Regions from separate parts of the Homo sapiens genome. Here all the other regions are linked to region 3. The links are contacts of gene promoters, found by promoter capture Hi-C in blood cells and fetal thymus (Javierre and others, 2016). All regions are on one chromosome and are shown on one strand. The core of a region is centred on a gene start or on the middle of the fragment in contact, and the rest is flanking DNA. Distances in the headings are between cores, read along the strand shown. Region 1 holds the start of NR3C2 (nuclear receptor subfamily 3 group C member 2). Region 2 holds the start of OTUD4 (OTU deubiquitinase 4). Region 3 holds the start of SCLT1 (sodium channel and clathrin linker 1).

Region 1 (3,269 bases), core at 564-3,063, about 19 Mb before region 3:
AACCTAGATTTTGCAAGAAGCTGAGATCCAGGGCAAGACCGGCCCTCCTCAAAGGAGATAAAAACTTAGTAAAAGAGACACGTCCATTCCTTTAATAATGAATAATTCGGCAACGCTTGCGGAGCCGCCGCCGCCTCGCGTGCCCAGGCTCTAGGTCCGGGACTCCCCTTGCTCCCGCCCGCCGCCCGCGCTCTGCCGACGTGAGATCGATGCCCAGTTCGCTGGGCCGGGAGAGTGCGCGTGACGGTGGGCCCCGCGGGAAAGTTGGGACGCTCGGCGGGGACTCCTGGCTGCGGGGACGCCGGGGGCAGCTCCAAGCTGGGGACCGAGGGGCATTAGAGTCTGGGGTCAGGACCAGCTCGCGGCGCTGCCGCTGTCGCCCCTATCTCCAGGGAGTTCCTGACTGGAGCGGCTGAGAGTTCAAGTCTCAGCCCTGGGTTAGGGGTCCGGAATCCCGGAGCTTAACTAACTGTTAAGGAGAGGAGGGGCCTTTGGGCACAGGGTGTCCCCCGGTCCCCCGCCTCGGGCTTTGGCGGGCGCGAAGCGAGGGTGAGGCGGGAGGCCGCACAGCTGCCGCCGCCGGGCTGCGGGTCGCCGAGGGCCGGGGGACCAGATTTAGGTGTATACGTCACTGATGCTGACTCCGGGCCAGCGGGGAGCCTAAAACGGGGCCTTACATGAGAAGCCTAAAAGTCCTTAGAAATCAAAGTTAGGAACCCCATCCTTTTGCTTAGTAACTGCAGCATTTGGGTGGGCGGGAGGAGAATCGAGGAGGGGGCGGTTGGAGGGAAACCGAAATTTCTTCATGCAGACAACCGATCCTTAGAAAACAGTTTGGTTCCTTCCCCCCTCCTGTCTGTTTCTCCCACTTATGTGACCCACCCCCTCCACCCATTATAACGTGAATATCCTCGATGGTAAGCTTGCTTTCAAATTGAACTAGTGGAAAAATCCAATACTAAAGTAGTAAGTACAGTGACAAAATTATAAGGAAGTAGAGGAGCAGCTCTTGACCCTGCCACTTCTTTCATTTATCTTTCTCTCTCTCTCTTTTTTTTTTTTTTTTTTTTTTTTTTTTTTTTGGTGTTAGGGGTCTAAGGGATGGGAGGAAAGCTGTGTTTAAAGGGTTTTTCCAGCACGGTTAAAACAACTAAATTCAAATCGAGTGAACGTGATCGTCTTGCTCGCTGGCAGCGAAGGCTGCTGCTGCTCTGCTGAGAGGTAACTCTGGAGACAGTGGAAAGGGGCTGGGAGAGGAACCTCGAGGGTCGGGTGAAGCCCACCCAGAGTCCTCCCCGCGCGCGGACGCTGTTGGGCGGCGCCAGGGTCTGGGCTGCAGCTCACCTGGAGCTGCAGGTGGAGAGCGTGAGGGGACGACACTTTGCTCGCGGAAAAACCGACTTCTTCCGCGTCAGCACACTTTTCACATCTCTCCAGATATCCTGGGGTCGGTCAGAAGGAGAGCAGGGTGGACGTAAGCAAGTTTGGGGCGGCCGAGCGATGGGGGTGGGGGCAGCGTGCGGAGGCCGCCTGATGTAGCCACCGCCCGGCACCCCAAGCTCCCGCCGCGGCTGCGGCTTTAAGGAAGCTGCCGAGTCCAGGCTGTGTCGCAGCAACTTTGTATCAGTCATGTCGCCCGCCTGGTGACTGACAGCCTGGATTGTCCAATAAGAAGCCCGCCTGACCCGTGCGGCGTGGAGCCTTGCTTCTCTTCGGGCCAATAGGAAGGGTTCAGGGGGGCGGGATAGCAACCTGAACTTTATCTGGACATGTGACCCGCTTTTAAAAGGGCCAGCCCTCCAGCTGGCCCACTCCCCCTCCGGGCTTTCGCCCGCCCTCTCTCCCTCCCTTTTTTGCCCGCCCTGGCCCTGCCCCTGCCCCTGCCCCCTCCTCTCAGCCCCTCCGCGCCCGGGGTGTCATTGGGCCCGGGAGACGGGAGCCAACTTCAGGCTGCTCAGAGGAAGCCCGTGCAGTCAGTCACCTGGGTGCAAGAGCGTTGCTGCCTCGGGCTCTCCCGCTGCAGGGAGAGCGGCACTCGCTGGCCTGGATGTGGTTGGATTTAGGGGGGCTCCGCAGCAGGGGTTTCGTGGCGGTGGCAAGCGCTGCAACAGGTAGACGGCGAGAGACGGACCCCGGCCGAGGCAGGTGTGTAGGGGCGCGCGGCGGGGCACCGCTTGCCGTGCTCGGCGTGCGGCCGCGGCGCGGGAGCGTGCACTTTGCAGGGAGAAGTGGCTGCGTAATCCGGAGGCACAGTCAGTATGGTGCTGTGTGCTTGTTGTTTTGTTTTGGTTTTCCACTTTTCTCCCCCTTTGGCCGCCAGAGGACTATTTTGGGAAAGTTTGGCCACTTTGGATAAATGCCCTCTAACTAGCAGCTTTTAACTGCCTTTGGCAGTGGGAGGTCTACCACCCTTCCCTTTACCCAAAGATGAATTTCGGATCATTTTCCCTGTACAATTTTTAAAGGACGTTTGAATAATATTTCTTTCCTTTATCAATTGCGGACGCTCCCAAATCTCAGCCGGAGGTGTAGCGCATAAGGGCAGTTGAAGGAGATATAGATCCTAATAGATCCTGTATAAAAGGGGCTCTGGAAATTCGTGCATTTCCCGTTCGCTAGCATTCGCGAAACTCTTGAGACAGGCTACGCTTCCTATGGCATCAGTTGGAATTTTAAGGGCAAGGGAGAAGGGGACGAAGCTTCTTTTGGTGGCATCCTTACTCTGCTACTGAATTTTAGGTGCGTGGCTTTGCCTACTCAATTTAAAAAGACCAGGTTTAAATAATAATGGTTTATGGCACCATCAGTTTTAATTATTTATTATGACATAGGAGTTAGGAAAACTTTTGATAGCAGACGAGCTTTTGAAACCGCCGAATTTTAAAGGCACCAAATTGCTTCCTAACATTTTGTATTGCCATTTCTCTAGGTGCTGTTATTGATGATATTTACATAGTAATGATAACAGCATTCTCCATCTGTGAAGTCCTGCTGTGAAGTTTAAATTTTATGTTTGACATCGTGGCAGCTATCATGGAAAAGCTTGAGAGGAGAAGTTTTAAAAAATAATTTAAAGTGGAGCTTTTTCCTTTAAGGGAGGCATAGTTTTGTTTGGCGATTTTTGGAAAGATCAGGTGGCTCGGTAAATTAGGTGAGTGAATAGAAATCAGGTGTGCTCAGTTCTAACTGGTTCTCCCGCTCTCTCAGGTGACCTTGGGCAGATTTCTATCATTTACCTCATCTATAAAAGAGAGGAACATAATAGTTAT
Region 2 (3,249 bases), core at 588-3,087, about 16 Mb before region 3:
ATCACTTCTAATTTTGGAACCAGAAGCAGCCAGCTTAGAGTGAGGTTGTTCTACATTCATTCAGCAGGAGTTTAGATATTACTTTGAGTTTCTCTTTGAGTTTAAAAGGCAAGCTTTTAAACTCAAAAACAAGGGCGATCCATGTTTTAAGTAGTGGCAATACTCAGGAATTTTTTTTTTTTTGAGAAGAATGAGAAGTATATGCAATGTAAGTGTATTTTAAAAAGAAAAGCAACAGGTTTGACTTGAAGCTATATTTTTCTTTTCCGTTTTTTTTTTTTTTTTTTTGAGACGGAGTTTCGCTCTTGTTGCCCAGGCTGGAATGCAATGTTGGGATCTCGGCTCACCGCAACCTCTGCCTCCTGGGTTCAAGCTATTCTCCTGCCTCAGCCTCCCGAGTAGCTGGGAGTAGCCTCCCGAGTAGCATGTGCCACCACGCCCGACTAATTTTGTATTTTTAGTAGAGACGGGGTTTCTCCATGTTGGTCAGGCTGGTCTCGAACTCCTGACCTCAGGTGACCGGGCTGCCTCGGCCTCCCAAAGTGCTGGGATTACAGGCGTGAGCCACCACGCCCAGCTGAAACTATACTTTTCTAAACCTGATTTCAAAGTGTTTCTTCGCTACAACAAGTAAATTTGAGGCAGGGACATTTTTTCATTTAGGTAACGATAACGTTTGTATTCTCTAAAAGCAGCATAATTTGAGATACAATATTTAAACATTAAGAAATCAAAGACGCTCCAAGGAAAGTGAATACATGACTGATTGCTTGCACTGAAAATACTGAAAAGTGTCTAACGTAGTTTTTAAAAAATTTTTGTCGTTGGACTCTCACCACCTGGCCTGCCTTGCCCCCCATTCCAAGGTATTTGACTACATGTCTAAACCTATAGTAATGCTCCCTTTTCTTCTCCCTCTCCTCCACCATAGCCTAAAAGACTGAATTAGTTCCTATGATTAACCATGTATTTAAATAAGGACACCAGATGTTGTATCTTAGCAAAATAAAATTTTGGTGCAACAGAAGCATGCTGGATAAATTCTGGGTTCTAAAGCATAATTTAACTTTGTCAATTCCCTGCCATTCAACGTCGGAGGGTGGGAAGTTGAGCTGAAGCCTCGAGCACTGGTGGAAGCCATGGCCAGTCCAGTCAGCATGTTATCAAGCAATTTACAAGATGAATTTTTTAAGGGGGAAAAAAAAACCCTAACGTCTTCCGACAGTGACATGTCTCTGTGATGGGGTGCTCAGCTACAGTGACAGGGTGAACAAAAATGTCTTTGGCAAAGCCTTCATCTTGCCGTAGTACGTGAGCTGTACTACTAATAGCAATCAGCAGTCCACGGTTGATTTATGGACAGAGTGTGTCGTCCCGCACCGTGCCAGTTCCCGGAGCCTCAGCCAATTAGCTCTATTTTCTGCTTAAGCCGTTAAAGCCACCTCCATGGAAACACCAGGAGAGCAGGCCGGGGGGAAGGGAGCAGACAGGTGCGCCCTCTGGAAAGAAATACACAAAGGGCCGACACTGCGCCGCCGTGTCCCTGGCAACTCCACGCCAGCCCGGCGCGCGCGATTCCCGCGGCGCAGCGGCAGGGTTGGCGGGTGGCGCGCGCAGGTCGCCCCACATCGGCCGGCGGAGCCCCTCGGCCTGCTCGCGGACGCGGCGCCAGTGCAGCGCGAAGCCGGCTTGGGGCGGTGGCGGTGGCGGCGGCGCGCCCGCGCTGTAGGGACTTGTAGTCCGCGCGCCTCCCGGGCACCTCCCCCGGGTAGGCCGGCCAGCGCGTCCCCGCCCGCCGCAAGCCGACTTCCTGCGGCTGCCAAGACTACATCTCCCGCCGTCCTCTCCGCTGTCGGGCCGAAAGCGAAAACAAATTCTGGGCTGCGAGGTGCTGTTCTCTCCCGGGCGCCCCCACCCGCTCCCTGCCCCTCCGGCGCCCTCCAGCGAGGTGGGGAAACGAAAGGCCGCGTCTTTCTTTTTGGTTTCCTCGGCTCCCGGCGTGGGGAGTGCGCGGGGGCGCAGGCCCCGCTTCACCTGAGCCGGCCCAGCGTGCGCGCCAGGGGCGGGGGTTTTCTCGCTTCACACCGGTACGGAGGAGGAAACTTGTGGGGGCGGCGACCCCCGGCCTGGGTCCTGAGTCAGGCAGCGAGGCCGTCGGGAAGTGACTACTCACTCTCGGGGTTTTCCTTAATCCCGCTCCCCCCGTTTGTCGTGGGCGCGTGTTCGCTCCGAGGAGGCGGCCGCGTGCGGACAGCCATGCATTAGGCAGGGCTTCCCTATGCGCCCGGAGAGCGCGGACCGCTGCCTCGGGCCGCCGCCGCCTGCCGCCGCTCGCGGAGCCCGAGCCCCAGCCCGAGCCGCCGCCTGCCCCAGGCCGGGGCGTCGAGCAGCCGGCGGCCTGGCCATGTGGGGCTAGCCCTCGCCGCGCCTGGCCTGCAGCAGGACCAGCAACATGGAGGCTGCCGTCGGCGTCCCCGACGGCGGGGACCAGGGCGGCGCGGGGCCCCGCGAGGACGCGACGCCCATGGACGCCTATCTGCGGAAACTGGGCTTGTATCGGAAACTGGTCGCCAAGGACGGGTCGTGCCTGTTCCGGGCCGTGGCGGAGCAGGTAATTGCGGGGGGGCGGGGAGGGCTTCGAGGGGAGGCGGGGACGGCCCGGCGGGTCTGGGTGGGGAGGCAGCTGCGGGCTGTCCGGGCCGCCCACGGCCGGGGCTGCGCGTGCCCTGGCTGTCGTCACAGCGCCCCATTGTAACGCCGGAGTGGGACGCTGCTTTGCGTCTGAAAGGTGCAAATTGAAACTCGAAAGCCCGCAAATTAACGGGGTGTCTCTCTCCTGATGAAGAGGTAATGAGTTGAGGACAACTTGTGAGGCCTGCTCGGAGCTTGTACAGTTGATTTATTGCTGGGGACCTGGCGACATGATATTTTTTACTTTTGTTCCGCATTCACCTTCCTTCCCTTCGTTTGAGAAGCACCACGCTCACCCCACTCCAGTAAACCAAGTGTTTACTAGAAGTGGTGGATCAAACTTTACTTGTGGAACATATTTTGGTTTGCTGCTGGACTTTGGAATGTAGGGTAGGCAAGCTCGCCCATGTCACTTGAATCAAATGGGCAAACTGCCGTTTGAGAAAACCAGCCTTTTACAAATATAGAATATTTTGAAGGATTTGTCTTGAGTAGGTTCCACCCTTTATTATGCTCTGCTGGGCTGTGTAGGTATACTAAACAGAACTGACTTTTTTA
Region 3 (3,677 bases), core at 835-3,334:
ACCAAATGAATGTTAGTGAAATGTCACTAATTTTCAATCTATACAACTTTAGGGGTTTTCTTTATTGCAGAAAAGTCATATAAAAACATTAAATGGTGGCTTGACAAGAGTTACACACAAACTACATACATTTCTGCTTGTCATTCCTTGTATTCAATTTATACTAATAGATACTTTTCATGAACATCCACTGAATTCTTTCATTCCTTCCATCAGATATTTAATCAACTCTGTGTTCCAGGTATTATGATGGAGCCTGGAGACAAACTACAAAACATGACAGATAATGCAGGAAGGAGCATGAAGTAAGTACTAAGGTGGCACCTACCTTGGGAGAAGTGGATAAAGAACTCAGGAGATGTGAAAAGGAGGAACATGAGAGGGGATCCTTTAAGGATAAGTGAAATCATCACAATTTTGTTTCCTAATGATGAAACTTATGTTGAAAATACTCCATTAAAATTCAACTACTAAAATCTTGTAACCACAAACACAAACGCAAAAACAAAAAACTATCATGATCATAATTATGATCATGTAAGCTAAAAAATTCGAGTGCAGACATAAAAGTTTTCACCTGAGATATTCACTTTATGTAAATACCACTCATCAGTTATAGCCAGAAGGTATTTGCTTCCATCCAGTTTGGGTGTAAGCGTAGAGTTAAGTCTATAATTATTTATTTGATGCCAAGTAGAAATACGACAATATACAAGGTTCAAATGTGGGAGAAGTTACAAGCAAGTCCTTGGAGAGTCAGTGAGATGTTTATGAAGAAAGAGTCATATACTGAACTTCAAAAACGAGTTGGACCTTGCACACTCAATTTTCCCTTAGCTATAACGTTTATACAAAAAGTTTTTGTGTAAACGTTATAGCTACTAAAAATCAGAACAAGTTCAATTATCACCAACTCAAAGCTGGATTAGACCTTTTCAATGATTATTAAGCTACACATCCATATTTAACAGCTAGTCTTTAGAGGAAGGGACCATCTCATTCTATTAACAGTGAGTATTGAGTAAGGCCTTCAGATGCCTAACTGCATATATTTGAATACATTTTTAAAATTTCTTAACACATATCGCTAAGGTTACTTTGTTTATATGACATTATGAGTACGGGACAACAAAACTCTTAAGCCGTTAAACAGAAAGCCAAATCAAGCTGCATCTATGACATGCCTGTTTAGTGAAACTTTACTTCAGTCCATAAAAATACAATTTATTAAAAGCACAAAACTAGTGGCTAGCTTCAAGTTAACATTTTTGTTGCTAGTGGTGAGATTTCCTCTAATGTTAAATGATTTTTTTTAAAAAAATACGTTTTAAGTCCAGACAAAATTAATTTTCAAAAATGAAAATTGTAATCTATCCACAAATGTAAGTTTTACCGTTTTGTTTTTTGCAAAAAAAAGTACCTTTTATCTTTCCTTATATTTGAGGAAACAAGCTTATCTTTGAAGAAGTAGCTGCTGAATTTGCAAGATCTTTTGAGTACTTCTAACTACACGCTTTATTACTACACAGTTAAATATTTAAACAACAGTTGTCTCCTTTGTCTAAAGACCCACAAAGACCGAGAAGGTACTTACCTTCTTGAGATGACCAAATCCAAACCTAGAACTCCTCCAGAGGTACAGCCTTGGTGGGAGATTCTGAAGACGCCAGTCTGGCTTCTATCCCTAGCCGCAGGAACCTGCATCTTTTACTTAGTCCAGAAAGGCTTAGTATATTAGTAACCCAAAGATAGTGAGGGCATTTAAACTGTGTATTTCATTCTCTACTCACGTTTGCATTTTGGTTTTTTGTTTGTTTGTTTGTTTGTTTTAAAGAGGTTGGGCCTCACTACCTGGAGACACTGTCCCACCAGTTTGGCCGCCGCGCCAAGCCGGTGGCTCAGCCCGCTGTCATCCAGGTTCTCACGACTCCTCCCATTGCTTGACAGCCAGCCAATAGCGTGCTAGGACTCTAGGACGCGCGATGGCGTAAGCTCCAACGCCCGCGTGATGACGCAAGAGGCGCCACCGTCTCCAAGGAGTGGTCCGGGGCACCGGTTTCAAAGTCGCAGGGCGGGCCGAGTGGACTTCCGCTGCTGGCCTGGGGCTTCCCAGCCGTCTTGGCGTTGTCCTCTCCAACCCCCGCCGCTCCGCGTAGAACGCCGCTCTCAGGCTGCCGTCAAGCTCCCGCGGCACTCTCCTAGGTGGCCCGACGAGACCCAGAGTGACCCGCGGGACGCCTGTATCGACCGCGTCCTCTTCCCACCAGCGTGGGATTCGGTTGAACGTGGAGTCCCCAGCAATCTTCAGTCTCTCACCAGGGCCAGGGACTCGTCTGGGGCGCGGGGGAAAGAAGCGTGGCGGGGCTGTAGATGCCGCGTGAGTAGGATGCAGATTGCACCGCTGGAGCGCTTGACAACCAACCGAGCGTTGGCTTAGTTTTGTTTTCCCGCACAGCAAGCTCTCTGTCTTTCAGAGGAAGGTAAAGGTGGTGAAAGCTCTAAACTAAAATTGTATCGAAATGGCTGCAGAAATCGACTTTCTGAGAGAGCAAAGTAAGCTCCATGTTTTTTTGAGACTTCATATACAATGTTTAATATCGTCGTCGTTGACCGACAAATCTTTTTTGAATGCTGGTTGGGTACATTTAAATTGGTAAAGAGTTAAAGAAGTTAGTTGCAGGAAAAAAAAAACCTTGATGTTATACGTGAGGATGTGTGTATATTTAAGCAGAACCGTGTGGTAGTACTTGTAGCTTACACAGAATTCTACTAGACGCTAAACATGTTTGTTATGCTCCTCTCGTGCTCTGAAGATTAGAAGGCTAATGGCCAGCAGGAGTTTCCAAGTGTGCATTTAAAATCTAGGGGCACAGCTCTCTGGCCATTTATTAAAAAGATGTTTATTGAACTCCTGTTTCTATTATGTACCAGACACTATGGAAGAACAGCTGCTGCAAAGATAAACAGGACAGTTTTTACCTCCAAGAATTTAATTTGGGGAGGGAAATGTATTCCAAAATATATTGAAGTGACAGCAACTGCTGGCTCTTTTGCCACAGTCTCATAGGGTTGTTGGAAAGATTAAATGAATATTAAAATATGTAAAGGATTTAGAATAGTATCTGATACATTGTGTTAAACAAATATTAACTATTACACGATTATTATTAAAATATGTTCAAGGAAGGTGCTATTGGGCTGAAACGTGCAGTACAAATATGAATTTACTATATGAAAAACTCTAGGCATCCCAAATAGAACAATATTTGTGACACTGAGGGGATTAGGAATATGCTTTGTTAAAGACTTGCAATACGGCTGGTTTGAGTGTAATATTGATGTAAATTGAATTGGAATATTTATATAGGGAAATGGCAAGTGCAGTTGAAGGCGTAGAAAGGGGCTGGATGGTGAAGGGCCCTGTCTTCTCTGTGCTAAGGAGTATGGACCATTGCATGGGTTATAGGAATTCAGTTGAGAGTGGCATGATCAAATTGTAGTTTAGAAGGCCCGGTCTGATTTTTACGGGGAATATGCATTATAGCAGAGTGCAGTTAGTTGTCTACTGTCATCATTCAGGTAAGAAGTAAACTAAGTTGGGCACAGGGAGACTGGAGATCAGGGGATTTGAGAGAAAGAGGTAGAGAGCAACTTAGTTTTTGCTTGAGCAACGGGGA

Evidence for each region. The method cuts DNA at HindIII sites, captures the fragments that hold promoters and counts their contacts. A CHiCAGO score of 5 or more calls a contact.
Region 1: a fragment that was not itself captured here is called in contact with the fragment with the promoter of SCLT1 in region 3 in 1 of 17 cell types (activated CD4 T cells); the score reaches 7.2 in activated CD4 T cells.
Region 2: the fragment with the promoter of OTUD4 here is called in contact with the fragment with the promoter of SCLT1 in region 3 in 2 of 17 cell types (non-activated CD4 T cells and total B cells); the score reaches 6.0 in non-activated CD4 T cells.

What each region holds. Positions count from the first base shown.
Region 1 is chr4:148,441,036-148,444,304 of GRCh38, reverse strand. It overlaps NR3C2 (nuclear receptor subfamily 3 group C member 2), which reads left to right and starts at 1,891. Exons shown (of 9, transcript NM_000901.5): 1 at 1,891-2,145. RefSeq lists a silencer at 1,694-1,983. The HindIII fragment of the contact is 1,777 bases long and covers 925-2,701 here.
Region 2 is chr4:145,179,177-145,182,425 of GRCh38, reverse strand. OTUD4 (OTU deubiquitinase 4) reads left to right here and starts at 1,837. Exons shown (of 21, transcript NM_001366057.1): 1 at 1,837-2,611. The coding sequence starts at 2,453. It overlaps LOC124900794 (a long non-coding RNA gene), which reads right to left and starts at 233. Exons shown (of 2, transcript XR_007058294.1): 1 at 1-233. RefSeq lists silencers at 1,431-1,830, 1,921-2,150, 2,271-2,730 and enhancers at 1,076-1,905, 1,906-2,735. The HindIII fragment of the contact is 3,984 bases long and covers 116-3,249 here.
Region 3 is chr4:129,091,946-129,095,622 of GRCh38, reverse strand. It overlaps SCLT1 (sodium channel and clathrin linker 1), which reads left to right and starts at 2,084. Exons shown (of 21, transcript NM_144643.4): 1 at 2,084-2,553. The coding sequence starts at 2,520. It also overlaps a transcript of C4orf33 not described here. RefSeq lists an enhancer at 1,820-2,389. The HindIII fragment of the contact is 3,346 bases long and covers 1,455-3,677 here.